Linked DNA regions of Homo sapiens: region 1 is linked to region 2. Evidence: promoter capture Hi-C in 16 types of primary human blood cells and fetal thymus (Javierre and others, 2016). All regions are on one chromosome and are shown on one strand. The core of a region is centred on a gene start or on the middle of the fragment in contact, and the rest is flanking DNA. Distances in the headings are between cores, read along the strand shown. Region 1 holds the start of GJB5 (gap junction protein beta 5). Region 2 holds the start of C1orf94 (chromosome 1 open reading frame 94).

Evidence for each region. Contacts are between HindIII fragments. The CHiCAGO score rates a contact against its expected background, and 5 or more counts as called.
Region 1: a fragment that was not itself captured here is called in contact with the fragment with the promoter of C1orf94 in region 2 in 1 of 17 cell types (erythroblasts); the score reaches 5.1 in erythroblasts.

What each region holds. Positions count from the first base shown.
Region 1 is chr1:34,748,563-34,755,600 of GRCh38, forward strand. GJB5 (gap junction protein beta 5) reads left to right here and starts at 6,485. Exons shown (of 2, transcript NM_005268.4): 1 at 6,485-6,633. The HindIII fragment of the contact is 957 bases long and covers 4,874-5,830 here.
Region 2 is chr1:34,174,033-34,181,527 of GRCh38, forward strand. It overlaps C1orf94 (chromosome 1 open reading frame 94), which reads left to right and starts at 2,875. Exons shown (of 7, transcript NM_001134734.2): 1 at 2,875-4,077. The coding sequence starts at 3,758. RefSeq lists a silencer at 3,176-3,470 and an enhancer at 5,185-5,685. The HindIII fragment of the contact is 2,906 bases long and covers 1,313-4,218 here.

The DNA.
Region 1 (7,038 bases), core at 4,102-6,601, 580 kb after region 2:
CTTGTCAACTCCAGCTCTTGATGCTACAGGGAATATAGACCCCATGCTGCCAGATCCTCTAGAACTTCCCCCAAAATATGTTTTCATATGGAACCTCCAGATTTTGATATGTTGGTAATTAATTGAAATGTTTCTTTAGAACCGTGAAGGCCAAACAAAACATTTGCCTCCAGGTCACCAGTTTGCACTCTCTGATGTATGTGAGGAGTTGGGCCCAGTGAATGCTACATAACAGAGAGTCAATAAACATTAATTCCCTTCCCTTCTCTGCCCTTCTTATTGATTCTCTCAAAAGAAAAAAAAATCTCCCCAAGCCATTCCTCCCATTCCACTCCCATCATCTTCATCTTCATGCAGCTTTCACTAGCTCTGTGCATCCACAGATCCAGGCAGGGCTCTGAGCACCTCACCCAAGATGCCCTGCCTTCCCTGGCATCCTCCCTGGCACCCTCCCTGGCTCACAGGCAGAACAAAGCTCTTTGCTTGGGTCTGACACTTCATAGTTGACAGAGATCTTGCTATGGTCCGAATGTGTCCCCCAAAATTCATATGTTGGAAACTTCATCCCTGATGTATTGGGGGGTGGGGCCCTTGGGGAGGTGTTTAGGTAATGAGGGCTTCACCCTCATGAATGGATTAATGACATTATAAAGTGGCTTAATAGAAGAAGTTTGACCGTTTTGGCCCTTCTGCCTCTGCCACGTGAGGACACAGCATTCCTCCTCTCTGAAGGACACAGTGTTTGAGGCACCATCTTGGGAGCAGAGGCCACATCCTCACTAGATGCCAGGAGGCATCTAGAGTCCTTTGTCCTGGACTTCCCAGCCTACAGAACTGTGAGAAAATAAATATCTATTCTTTATAAATTACCCAGTCGGTGGTGGTCTGTCGCAGCAGCATGAAACAGGCCAAGACAGCCCTCTCCCTCTCATTTTCTCATCCATGCAACAGCCCTACGAGCTACTAATTATCACCCCCAACACACAAGTAAGGGAAACAGGGTCCAGAGGGTACAAGTCAGTCAACAAATATTTGTTGAACACCTACTATGCACCAGGCACTATTAAATGGCAAATCCAAGGTTACAGAGAGTATATTTGGCTGCAAATGACAGATACCTAAATTAAACAGGCTAAAACAAAAGGATAATGCAGTGGTTTATGTGCATGCAGGAAAGAAAACATTATGGCTGGGCTCCAAAGATAGATCAAGCCAGGGATTCCAGTGCCTTCCAAGCACTCGCTTGCTTATCTTTTGTTTCTGCTTCCCTTTCTGCATCAGAATCATTGTCTCACTCAGCAAAGCAGCTTTGTCAAACAGCAGGCTGCCAGCAATTCCGGAGCCTCACTTCTCACTATGTCTATCATCAGATGGACACTCTCCCTATCCAATGTTCAAAAGTCCCAGGGAAGACCCCTTGGTAGATGAGCGTGGGTTAAGTTGTCACACTGGACCAATCAACTGAGCAAGATAAGTATGACTGATTAGCTCAACTGGGGGCCAGTCCCACCTCTGAGCCAATCAACACTCAATGAGCGAAGATGCGGCTGGTTAGAGTGAAGATAGGCGAATTCCCCAGGAAATGAGATCGCTTCTCTGTTCAAACAAGAGATGTCTTAGTTTGGGCTCTCCCAAAAGCCAAGCCTGAGACAGGATTTGCATGCAAGTTGTTTATTTGGGAGGCCATCCGAGGAAACATCAGCATGGGAATGGGCAGTGAGTCAGAGAAGGGAAGAAAGCTAATGAAGGGTGTTTAATTGAGTGAGTTACCTCCATGGGCAACGGAGCTTAATCCTGCTGGGGACTGCTGGGAAACAGTAGAAAACGACTTCACAGTCATCTCAATCAAAGGCTGAGGAGGCTGGAGAATTTATACCCTAACTTCTATCAGTCACTGGTTGAGGGCTTTTCCCAGTGGGGCATCAGTTCACTAGCACTTCCAGCCTACCTCATATGTAGGCAGAGGCCCAGAAGCCCAGAGAGCCCCAGGCAGAGTGGCAGGTGCTGGCCATTGGACACTGGTCCTGCCTGCTGTAAATCATTGTGCTGTACTAGGTCCTCTTAACCACCGAAAAGGAGTATGCCAAGAGGATCTGGGGCAGATACTGATAGCACCTGCTACGTGTACTGACCACTTGATGGAACCAGATTTAAAATGCAGAGCTGTCTGGTTACTTTCAGTAAGTCCTGTGGTGCCCACACTGGACCATGACTCAGCAGAGATTCTGAGCATCCAGGCAAGAGCCCAACAGGAAGGTCCTTGGCCTTGGAACTCTTGTTAGCAAGGGGAAATGTGGCAGCCAGTGGCCAAAGCTTCAAGAACTGCTCATGAGCCCTCAATCCTCTAAAAGAGAGGCCCCAAATGGAACTGAGACAACCCGCCCAGAGACGGCAAAACACTGTGTTATTGAGACCAATGATTCAGCTTTAGTGTGGGCCGGGCTGGAGGGACGAGGATACCTAGAAGCATTGGGCCCCAGTCTCAGGAATGGTGAGCCTCTCCATGACCCAGCTCATGCAGAGCCTCAGAAATCGTAGGGAGAGACCAAGGGGCACATCCCAGTTTCAGCCTCCTCGGACTGAGCTTGGAAGCATGGGTAGAGCTGGTGGAGTAGGTCTAGAGGCCTAGGAAAGGAGGCACATCATAGGGGAAGAGCATGACCATTCGTCCCAGAGGAAAAGCAAATGTCCACCCAACAGGTCAGAGAGCAACAGCCCACAGAGTGGAAGAAAATGAATGTGTGAGACATGCCAGCTGTAAATCACCATGTTTATATACATCCTCTCAAGCACTCCTCACAACAGCACCACCCGACCCCTTCCACATTCGAAAGAAAGGAAACTAAGGCTCAGAGAGAAAAAATGAGTTGACCAAGGCCACATAGTTAGGGAGCAGAAATGGGGTTTGAGCCCAGGTCTGTGTGGATTCTGCCCATCACACAACTCTTTCCCTGTTTTCCAGGTTTGCCTGTTCTCTGTCATGCCCACCTTCCACCCTTCCCACCTCCAGCTCCCTCCTGGATTTCCAGCATCCCCTGAGTCCCATCCCTCAGTAAAAGAACAGCCATGAAGCCTCCATTGAAACCTCTCACTTGATAATAAGCCCACTTTCATGATAACAAACCCACTCCCATGATAACGATGTTAATCCAACTAACCTAATTACCTCTTAAAGTCCCACCTCCCAACACTGTTGCATTGGGGGTTAAGTTTCAATACATGAGAGCATTGGGGGACACATTCCAAGCATAGCAGGGGGAGTGAGTGGGAAAAGTGGTGCATAGGTTCATCACAGATGTGTTTGGAGTTAATGAGTTCAGTGCTACGTGTGCTGAGTAAGAGCCACATGAACTATCCAGGGTCACGAGGTGGCAGCAATAGTTGGAGTCCTCAGCCCCAAGCTGGTGGTAGGAGCCACAGCCTGTGGAGAGTGCACTGAGAGAAGAGAATCCAGGAGAGCTCTGGAGAGTGCTGGCATTTTAGGAAGCAGGCAGAGGGTTACTGGCAGAGGAGAAAGCTCCAGGCCTCAATTTAAATCTTACACTTTCAGAAAGGCTTTCCCTGCTTCCTGAAACTAGGTCTGGTTCTCCATTATACATTTTCTTGGCACTGTGCTTCTCCTTTGTGACTCTATCACAATTGCATTTTTAGAGTTATTGGTGTGTGTGTGTGTGTGTGTGTGTGTGTGTGTGTGTGTGTGTTTAATGTCTTATTTCCTCCTTTGACTGTAATCTTCAAGAGGACCAGGCCCAGAGGTTGAACCATGAGAACCATGCTTACTGATTTATTTCCACTATCAGGCGCAACACGTGGCACATAGTAGGTGCTTAATGAATATTTGACGATGAGTAAATGATTCTGTTTATCAAGCATAAAGGAGCCGACAGTGTTGCCAAATCCTTGGGTATGAAGATGTTGAAGCATTACGGTGTTAAAAGCACTGGCTCTGGAGCTCAGCTACCTGAATTCCACCCCCAGCTCTCCTGATTACTGATTGTGCAAGCCCAGGCAAGTTTCTTAGCCTCTCTGGGCCTCAGTTTTCCCATCTGGAACATGGAGCCATTGGAGTTCCTACCTCATAGGGTTATTTCTATCAGTGGCCCAATCACCTATCAAATCACCAAAACCAGTGACCTATGAACCATCCTAGGTCAGCCTCCTGCCTCACATCCTACATCCAGTCAGTCCCCCAAGTCAGTCCCCCAAAGCTGCCAGCTGTATTTACCAGCTATTTCCCAAATCCAACCCTCTTGCTCATTTCTTGCCTAAATCATTGCAGTAACTTTCATACCGGTCTCACAAGCCCCTCCAGCCTCTTTTCTCAAACAGAGGAAGCTTTCTAAACATACAGTTGATCTTCATTATTCACAGATTCCGTATTGTGCATTCTCCAGCTCACCACAATTTATTCCTAAGCCAAAATCTACACTTAAGACACTTTCATGGCCATTTATAACATGCACAGAGTGGCAAAAATTTGAGTCTCCCAATGCACGTGTTCCCAGCTGTGGCTGAACAAGGTGACATTCTGCCTTCCCCTTTCAGCTCTAATGCTATAAACATGTTCTATTGGAGGTCTACTTGGTGCCATGTTTTTCTCATTTCTTGCTTTTTGCTGGGGATTTGCTGTTTGAAATGGCCCCGAGTACAGTGCTGAAGTGCCATCTAGTGTTTCTAAGCACACGAAGGCTACGATGAGCCTTATGGAAAAAATATGTGTGTTAGACAAGCTTCATTCAGTCATGAGTTATAGTGGTGTTGGCTATGAGTCCAATATTAATGAGTCAACAATATATATTAAACAAGGTGTCTTCAGAAACACACATAAAACAGACTTCTGTATTGATCAGTTGATAACCACATTGTAAACAGAAGCTTGCAGGAACCTAACCTCATATGTCCTCTAGGAAGAATGCTTCAATATTCACTAACTTGGTGCTCATGGTGACTCATAGACTATAACTACCTTGAATAATGAGAATCAAATGTACCAATCTGACCATGTCTCTTCCTTTTTCCTGCCTCAGCACAATACAAAATGTAAAAATAGAAAAAAGAAAAGAATTCCCTCATGCCTCCCTCTGCACCCAAGATAAATTCAAACTCCTTAGCATGACATTCCAGGTCCTTCATGGTCTGGAAGGTCTTTGCTGACCTTCCAGGCTCCTTGCCATGTGGTGTCCCCACCACTACCCAGCCCACTCTCCAATGCTCTTCCATTATTTTTCACAAAGGTCCTCTGCACGCTATGTGCCCACTGCCTCAAAGGCCCCTCCTCAGCATCTCTTCTTGGTAAACTCCTATACATCCTTCAAGACCCAGCTTAAATGTTACCTTCTCCGGCTCTCCCTCTGGCAGAACTTAAAACTCCCTTCTCTCTCTGTGTCTTTTCTAGGACTTCTCACAATGTTGTAACTGATCTCTTTATATGCCTCCTCTCTCCTGTACTTGGCAACAGCTTTTTGGAAAGAGCATGGAGTATAGAAATGTGTGACTCTCTGCAGGGTGTGTGCATTTCACACATCATTCATTCAATAAATATAAATTGAAGCCTAACTGGACAAGACACCAGGCACCATACTAGGCACAAGGGATAGAGCAGTGAATAAAATAAAGCCACTGCTGCATGTGTGTGCAACACTGTGCCCATAATTGTGGCCTGTGTGTAAGAGTATGCTCATGTGAAGCTACATTGTGTTTGCTTGTGGACATGAGGTGTTTGTGGCTCCTGGATGCTTTGTCTGTTGAATCCTGACCCCAAGTGACCTGCTGATACAGGGCACCTTGGAAGTCAATTAGGCCAAAAGACCGTGTCTGTGCACTAATGAGAAGCTTTCCCCAGGTGCCCCTGCCCACCTTCTCCACCTCTCCTGTGGTTCCTGCCTGGCTTGGGTTTGGCCTTTTTAACCCAAAGACAACATGCATCCAAATGAGATTTTCTCTAGTGCATACGTCTCTCTCTCCCTCCCTTCTCCTCTGCCTTCCCTGTATCTCAGAAAGAAAAGGCCTAGGAATAAGGAAAAGGAGGAGGAAGAAACATTTTTTTGAGGACATACCATGCGGCAGGCCTGTGCTGGGCAGTATACACGCATTATAGGCAATTGTAGACAGGGCTTCCCTTGTGTCAGGCACTGTTCTAAGCACTTCACCCCTAAGGCTGGGTTAATCCACGTATCCACCCTATGAGGTAGGTGTTGTTCTTTTCCCACTTTCACAGAGAAGGCAAGAAATCACACAGTGAGAAAGTGGCAGAGCTGGGATTCAGGCCTCAGCTTCTCCCACACAAGCCCACAGATGGGAGGATGAACAAGGAGTCAGAGTGGACCTGTGGCTCTCCCCTGAGAGGATACCAGGATTCGAGGCTCAGCGCCCTGGGAGGAGTGAACCCCTCAGTTTCCTGAGCCTCATCAGAAGCAGTCTGGGGAGGCTGGGGCCCAGCCAATGGCAGTGCAGGTCCCAGCTCCTCCTCCTCCCAGGCTGGGCCAGCACACCCGGCAGGCTCTGTCCTGGAAACAGGCTTCAACGGGCTTCCCCGAAAACCTTCCCCGCTTCTGGATATGAAATTCAAGCTGCTTGCTGAGTCCTATTGCCGGCTGCTGGGAGCCAGGAGAGCCCTGAGGAGTAGTCACTCAGGTAAGGGCATCTGTGTCCGCATGTGCCCTGCCCCTTGGCATACGTGGCAGGAGGACACTTCTCTGCTGGGGAGTGGTGGGATGTGGCCTGGACACATCTGCCACCCTGGGTCCTGATGGTGGAGGAATAAGGGGCTCTGGGTTCTTTCAGGTCTCCCCAGCCGGGCAAAGGTAGGAGCAGGGGCCAGGCCGGAAGCTCAGCAGGCAGGGTAGCTCTGCCTGGGCCTGCAAAGCCCTGCCCCACTCCTCCCCAAGTAGGGATGGGCTGGGTGAGAGCCCCTGGGGCTAAGGGCGGGGCCTTCCTGGGTGTTCCCTGAGAAGCTGCAGGAGTCCTACCTTAGACAGGACTGAGCATGCAAGATGGTGATTCAAAACAGAGCTCCCCCCAACCCCGGCCCCCACCTCC
Region 2 (7,495 bases), core at 1,625-4,124:
ACTAGGTGATTCTGTCTAGGGTAGACATCTTTTTCATCATCTCTAATCCCTGTGTCTTTCACAATTTTGACCCATGATGGATGCTCAAAAATGAACAAAGCCTGGAAAGGCGTAAGTGATTATGTGAATTCGTTTCTCCATCACAGAACAACTTCCCCAGTACAACACAATTCTCCCTCTCTACACAAAACACAAAAGCTGCTATTCAGAAACTCCAAAGGCATGCATTTCAGTGTAATCAACAAGCAAACAACTGTATAACACGTTTATCTGTCAGTTGTTGTTCAAGGGACTTTCCATGTGTTAAGCAATTGGTTAGTAATAGAACATCTGTAGTAATTCTACAAAGCAAGTATTCTTCATTATCATCCCATTTTACAGACTAAGAAATCAAATGTTGTGGGCTGAATTATATGCTGCAATCCTAAACCAAATACCTCAGATGTGACTGTATTTGGAGATGAGTCCTTTAAAGAGGTAGCTAAGATTAAAAAAAAGAAAAAAGCCATTAGGGTGTGTCCTAATCTAATATGACTGGTGTCCTTTAAAGGAGTGATTAGGACAGGGACACATATACAGGGAAGACCATGTGAGGACATAGGGAGAACACAGCCAAGTGCAAGCCAGCGAGAGAGACTTCAGAGTGAAACTAACAATGCCAACATCTTGGTCTTGGCCTTCTAACCTCTAGAATGGCAAGGAAATAAAATTCTGTTGTTTAAGCCACACAGTCTGTGGACTTCGTTATGGTAGCCCTACCAAACTAATACACCAAGGCACAGAGTAACTTGCCTAAGCTTACATTGCCAGAAAACGTGAACTCAGAATCTGAACCCAGGGACTCTGGTTCCCGAGAATATGTATTTAATGATAAGAAATGTTCTCTGTGCTGTCCAATATGGTAGCCACTAGCCATATGTGGCTACTGAGCACATAATATGTGGCTAATGCAAATGAGGAGCTGAATTTTTCATTTAATTTATATAAAAATAAAGTTAAAATTAAAACAACCCCATGTGGCTAGTGGCTACCATATGGACATAGCTTTATACTATTTCTAAGTACATCACTTAAGATTTTTGCAGAATTTTCTAGAAATCTCGTCTGTGCACTCTAAAAACATGCTCTATCTTTGTTCCGTATCCCTGCTGTATTTGATTTTTTTTTTTTTTTTTTTTGCAGTCCTTTCTGATTTAGCCCCCGTTGCCTGGTCTCCTGCTGAGGGGGAGAGGGAACAGGAAGAGTGAGTGAGCTGGCTAACTTCCAGAATCCTGGGGCCTGGGCAGTGCAGGGTCGTTGGCGTTCTGCTCTAAGCTTAAGGTGTTAGCCAACCAAATGCCAAGCAGCACAAACACTGAGTGACATTTTCAGAACTATTAATATTTCATCAGAAATGATCACTTTTCCTTTAAATACACTATTTTAAAAGGTTTTCTACATTCTTAACTATAATTTTATTCAGTCTAGGCCCTCAGAATTTTCCCCAAAGGAACACATCTTCAATTTTGTAATGAAAATCAAAGGAGAATGAAGCTCAGATTTCAAAATTTAGAGTAAACATTTCCAGGAACTCAGCCCCTCTGTAAAGAGCAAGGTTGCGTATTGGGCACCTACTGTATACCAGGCACTTTACATACAGTATACCATTAATTCATCCAACACATATTTTTTGAGTGCCTACTATGTGCCAGAAACATGATCCTCATAATTTATTAACACCATTTTACAGAAAAGGAATTCCTCTCATCCTTCTCAAATTTTTCTCCTCAAAGAAGTCGGCCTGGACCACCATGGAATATTGCCTCCCCTCTTCTCCCCAGTGCCTCACTTTGTTACTAGGTTGGTACAAAAGTAATTGTGGTTTTTGCCATTGCAAGTGATGGCAAAAACCGCAATTACTTTTGCACCAACCTAATAGTTATTTTCCATCAGAGTCCCATTGCATCTGTAATTATTGCTGCTTTACTCGCTTGGCTGGTTTGCATCGATCTCTCCTCGCTAGTATACAGGCTCCAGGAGAGCAGGGACCATGCCATTTTTGCCCACCCTTATGCTTCTTCAGTGCCCAGCAACTCATCGGGCACAGAGGAGGGGTTGCATCAGTACTGGGGGAATTATGAATGGGGATGGGAGAAGTTCAGAAAGTTCTTAAGGTCACACAGCTCGGAAATGAGTGTCAGGATTCAACCCAGCCCTGCATTTATAGACTGCCATCTTCCTCTATTTGTGTCCATTCTTCTTTCTTCCGTCTCCACCCTCTTGCTTTTCCTTTTCAGGGGAATTGCTAGAGAAGCAACCCCCTGACTCTCGGAACCAGAAAGTCTCCCTCAGCAGAGGTACTGTGTCAGTGCCCAATTGAATGAAGCCGCTTCAGTGAGGGTAGGGGCCTGTTGATCAGCAAACAGCTAACTTAGCCCTTCTCCCTGCACCTCGGACCTCCTACTCCTGCTCCTACCCACCTACTGAAGCTGTCTCAGTGGTCAAGGGCTAGATCAGGCCTAGAGTGCTGGGGTCTGAGTCTCAGCTTCCCTTTTCTCAGGGGGCCTTGGACGCAATCCCTTATGACTTTGAGATTCGCTTTCCTCCCGTGTAGAACGATAATAAAAAGTGGTACTAATTTCACGAGCTTTAATAGGATTGAATGTGAGCCCAGCGCTTGGCACAGGGCAAGCGCCCCATAAAATGGCAGTTAGGATTAAAATCGAGGTTGCCGGGGGACCCCCAGGCAGGAGCTGAGATTTGTGTGGAGCGGCGAAGTGGGGCGGCGGCGCGTTTGGCTTTGACTTCTGATCCCCCGAAGCGCTCTGGGGTCCTTTGGGCCCCACCCCCACCCACCCCACCGGCGGGTCTTGGGCTCCGAACCCAGGGCGCCCCGCGCACCGAGCCGTTGCGTTTGAAACCCACAGAAAGAATTCCCCCGCTCGACGACGGCGAGGGTGTGGGAGCTACTGGCAGGCAAATTGGTGGGAGCCGCCCGGCCCAGCCTGCCTTGCCGAGTCAGCGCGCTCTTGAGCCGCTGGGCCCTTCCCGGTGCCCGCCTGGCAGCGCGGCGCGGCTGGGGCAGGGGTCTGCTGGGGGCCGGGGACTAAGGGCTGTGGGCCCATCCACACACGCCTCATCCCTTCTTTCCGGGGGCAGCAGAGCAGCAGCGGGAGACCGGGAGCAGGAGGGGTAGGGCGAGAGAAAAGCAGGACCTGGGCCGGGGGTGGGAGTCGGGCCGTTGACGCTCGCTCTGCGAGGGGCTCCCTGGGAACGCCCAGGCGAGCGCCTCCTGCGGGGCCCCGCCCCCCGAGTGCCTACAATGGTGCCAGGCCCGCACCCAGTCCTCCGCGTGGCTTAGCGGGACAGCATGGGCTGAGCCCAGGCGCCGAAAGTTGTCACGGCGGCGTCGCAAGGGGGCAGTGCCAGGGACTGTGGGGAGAGCCAGCCCTCCCCTTCCAGCTGTTCCCAGATGTCATTCTGCCCGCCCAGGCGCCTGGTTCCTGAGCTCCGCAGCATTCCACTGTTCCTAAGCTACTGGTTTTTGTTGACTTTTAAATATTTTCTTCTAAGGGAGAGGGGGAGGGAGGCAAAAGTCAGGAAAGAGCAAATAAAAACAAATCAAAATAAGCCCTCCCCTCCCCAAAAGAAAGCTGTCCTCCACCCACCCCTCCCACACAAATAGAAGGCCTCTGAACCTAACCACCTTGCTGGAGCGAAAGCCAGACAGAACTGACCCACTTCTGCCAAGCCCCATCCTCATCTCCCTTTCTGGTGAATGAGGGGTGGTGGTGGTTGTGTTCTAGCCCTGGGTGGACAGAGGGGCTTCCAGAAAGAGAGGAGGAGGATGGCCAGCGGGAATGGGCTTCCTTCATCCTCGGCCCTGGTGGCCAAGGGCCCCTGCGCCCTGGGCCCATTCCCCAGATACATCTGGATCCACCAGGACACACCCCAAGACAGCCTAGACAAGACTTGCCATGAAATCTGGAAGAGAGTTCAAGGCCTGCCTGAGGCCTCACAGCCCTGGACCTCCATGGAGCAGCTCTCTGTCCCTGTGGTTGGAACTCTAAGAGGCAATGAGCTCAGCTTTCAAGAAGAGTAAGTACCCCCCTACTCCATTGGCAGCAAGGGAGGAGGGAGGAGATGAAGTCTGACCTTCTGGGGGAATGTTCTGGCCCACTGTTGAGGCTGGTGAAACCCTAAAGGCTGTATATTGCCCCCTCCATGGTCCTTTGTCCAAGCTTTATAGAAGAGCTGACCAAAGTTCTGAAGTTTTGTGGGTGAAGAGTCAGATTAGGGCTATATTCCAGGCTGCCTCTTCACCAGCCCGTTAAGCAGACATTTCTCATCCTAAACGCATGTGAATCTGAGGTCCTTGAAAAACCACCCTAGCTAAGGCTAAGGGTTATATGGCTTGTGGCTTTCCCCAGAAGCAACTAGAAGATCCTTCCCCTCTCCCACCTAAAGGCTAGGCATTCACATGGATGAGTCTGATGGTTTTAAATCACATCTGGAATTCCCTAATACAGGGAGCAGCTGTCCCATTCAGCCTCCACAGAAGCTGCTGCAAGAGCACACATCAAAATATTTACTGGGAAGGCACTGACATATTCAGAGGACATAATAGAAAATTAAAGTGCGGGAAGATGGCTGTAAATAGCCCGTTTCCGGGATGGGAAATCCTGTGTCTGGGAAACACAGAGCTAAGTGTTTCTCCATCAGGGCAAAGTTGGGCAGATATTGTTGAGGATGGATATTCGAAAGGAAAGGAAGGAGCAGAGAGGAAAAAGGGAAATTAGGAAAAGAAAGTAAATCTGCTGTGGTTATTAATACCGCCGTTGAGCACTTACTTATTTCACGTTTTGCATCTTCAAAGTGGACTGTAAACTTAATTAATGTTCCCAGAGTCCCTGTGAGGCAGGTATTAGTGTCCCCATTTTACAGATGGATTAAGTGTTAATAATTAAGAGCTAATTAAAGACTAACCGATAATTAAGTGTTGCCTGCTCCAACACATGCTACAGCTCAGTTCAGAGATGCTCTGGAGTTGGGGAGCCATTCAGGCATTTATCAGCTGCCTCGGGTTTCAGGGATGCCTAAGCAAGAGCTAAGAAGAAAAGCAAAGTGTAAATGACACCCAGCTCTACACTACCTGCTGTCCCTCTGTGGGCTCATTTACTTACTGCAGATGAAGGTGGAAGGCACTTTGGCTAGTCCTGCCTCCCTGCCCTGTGCTCAGCATGACAAGGCTCAGACAGGAATGGCCCATCTACAGCTAAAATCCTGCTGTCAGGCCCTTCAGTGGCACTGAGCCCTTCTCCCCTGCTCATTGCCATCTGCTCTGGGACAGGGCCTTGGCAGGAGGGCCCATGGGGCTGTGCTCTGCTCTCAATGGCCAAGAAGCTGATTGTCCACTTTGTGGACCAAGGGTCAGTAGCAATTTCCAGTAGATGGCATCCTCTTTGCCAGGTCACACAGAGTTAATGGAGACAGACTCGACTTCCAGTCTGCACTTGGCTGAAAATTGAACTGGTGCACCTTTGGCCAGCTGCTTAACTCCATTTGGCCTTTACTTCCTCATTTGCAAATTGAGGGTGATATGTGCTGCCTTGTCTACCTCAGAGTTGATAATGAGGATCCAATGTGATGGGAGACAGGGAAATGAAAGATGCATTATACAAATCAGGCTGCTCTTAACATGTACTTCTTCAGGTTGGGATTTGTTGTTGTTGTTGTTGTTTTTGTTGTTGTTGGCTTCAATCTGGGGTTCACACTATGCTCCATATACCTCAAGGTGCTTCAGGGGTCACTGTGGAGTCAAGTGGGCTGGTTGCTGGGCCCCAAAATCCATTTCAGCCAGAGCTGTTTAGCTTTTATCAGTTTTACTTACTAGAGTTCTGAGTAGGGCTGAATTTGAAAAACATGTTTCTGCTATTGAGAAAAGAGATAGGAAACCAATGACTTAGACGAATAAACGACATCCTAATTGTCAACCAAATAGAACACAATGAGCTATTCTTAAAATAAAGGCGGTGTGCTGGTGGAGTCAGATAACTCTGGTTTCAGATTCCATTTCAGCCCCATGCCATTTGAAGAATTTGTTACTCTTTAATTTATCTAAACTTTGGTTTCCTCATCTGCCAAATGGAGATTAATACTATACATTTTGTAGGGTTGTTGGAATGATTAAATGGGATATTTAAACATTTATGGTAATAATTCAGATTTGTAAAAATTCCTTGCAATTCAGATGTGATCATTTCTTTAAGCTCTACAATTATTGCATGAGGTAGGTACTCTTTTAAACTTTCCATCTCTTTTTACTTTTTATTATGCAAATTTTCAAACACATAGAATAATAATATGGTGAATATCTATGTGTCTATCACTGAGTTTCAATAATTATCACATTGTGCCATTCTGGTTTCAATTGCTACCTCCACCCCTCCATTTATAAGTGAAATTACTTTTACAGATAACGTGGCTGAGGTTTGGAGGGGTTAATTTCTTTGCCCAAGCTCCTACAGTTAGGAAGTAGTAGAGTTTCAGAAATGAAACCCAAGACCGCCTTGGCCCTGAGGCAATAATGTCGGCTGTCCTGTCTTAGAATCTGGGGCATCTTTGAATAGTCAAAATAGTTGGGAGTCCCATATACTGAATGATCACACACAGAGTGAAAAGCCAGGGAGCTGTTCTTACTATTTCTAGAATGCCTTCAGGTGCACAAGATATCTCTCAGCTGGTCTTTCTGCTGCTTAATTTGTAGACCTGGTTTTGGTGGTGTTTTCTTGTATTGTGGTAGATAGGTAAGTGCATTCTACAATTCTTTTTGGCCAGAATTTGTTTTTCTTGACTCTGCACCTATTTATCATAGGAACCTAGACATTTCAAATTTGAAAGAGATTTTTGAAGCCATCTTCCGCTGCTCGAATCCCCTCCTTACTGTCCCTGCCAAGTGGTGCACTTGTACCACTTGGTACAGTTTATCAGATGGGGAGCTTACCACTTCCCTTTGCTGCCCCTTCCCTTGCTATGAACCCCCTCAAAATACCTTTTGCTTTCTATCACTGAAATATGTCTCTATCAAACTAATTCCCATTGATCTGGATTCTGCCCTTAGTACTCCAAGCCAAATCTATGTCTTTTTTCTTTCGATACCCCTTTGGATAGTGAAAGACAGCAAGACAGCAACAATATTCCTCCCAGAATGTTTTTGTCTCTATAAGCTAACCACCTCTGGTTTTCTAAGTTTCTCCCCATGTGCCAATTTGGTTAGTTTCCTGTCCACACTGTTGGTCCTTGTGGCAGTGTAACTTTGAAAGCCAAGTACAATAATCCAGGGGTGATCCAATCCATGCAGATTTGATCCTCCCTGTCTGCATTCTGTTTCCTGTTAATGACAACCAATACTACACTCACTTTTTTCCCCAAGTCGACTTTCACTCTGTGGACACATTTTCAATCTCTTAATTCATTCATTCAATTATTCATTCAACAGATATTTATTAAACATCTA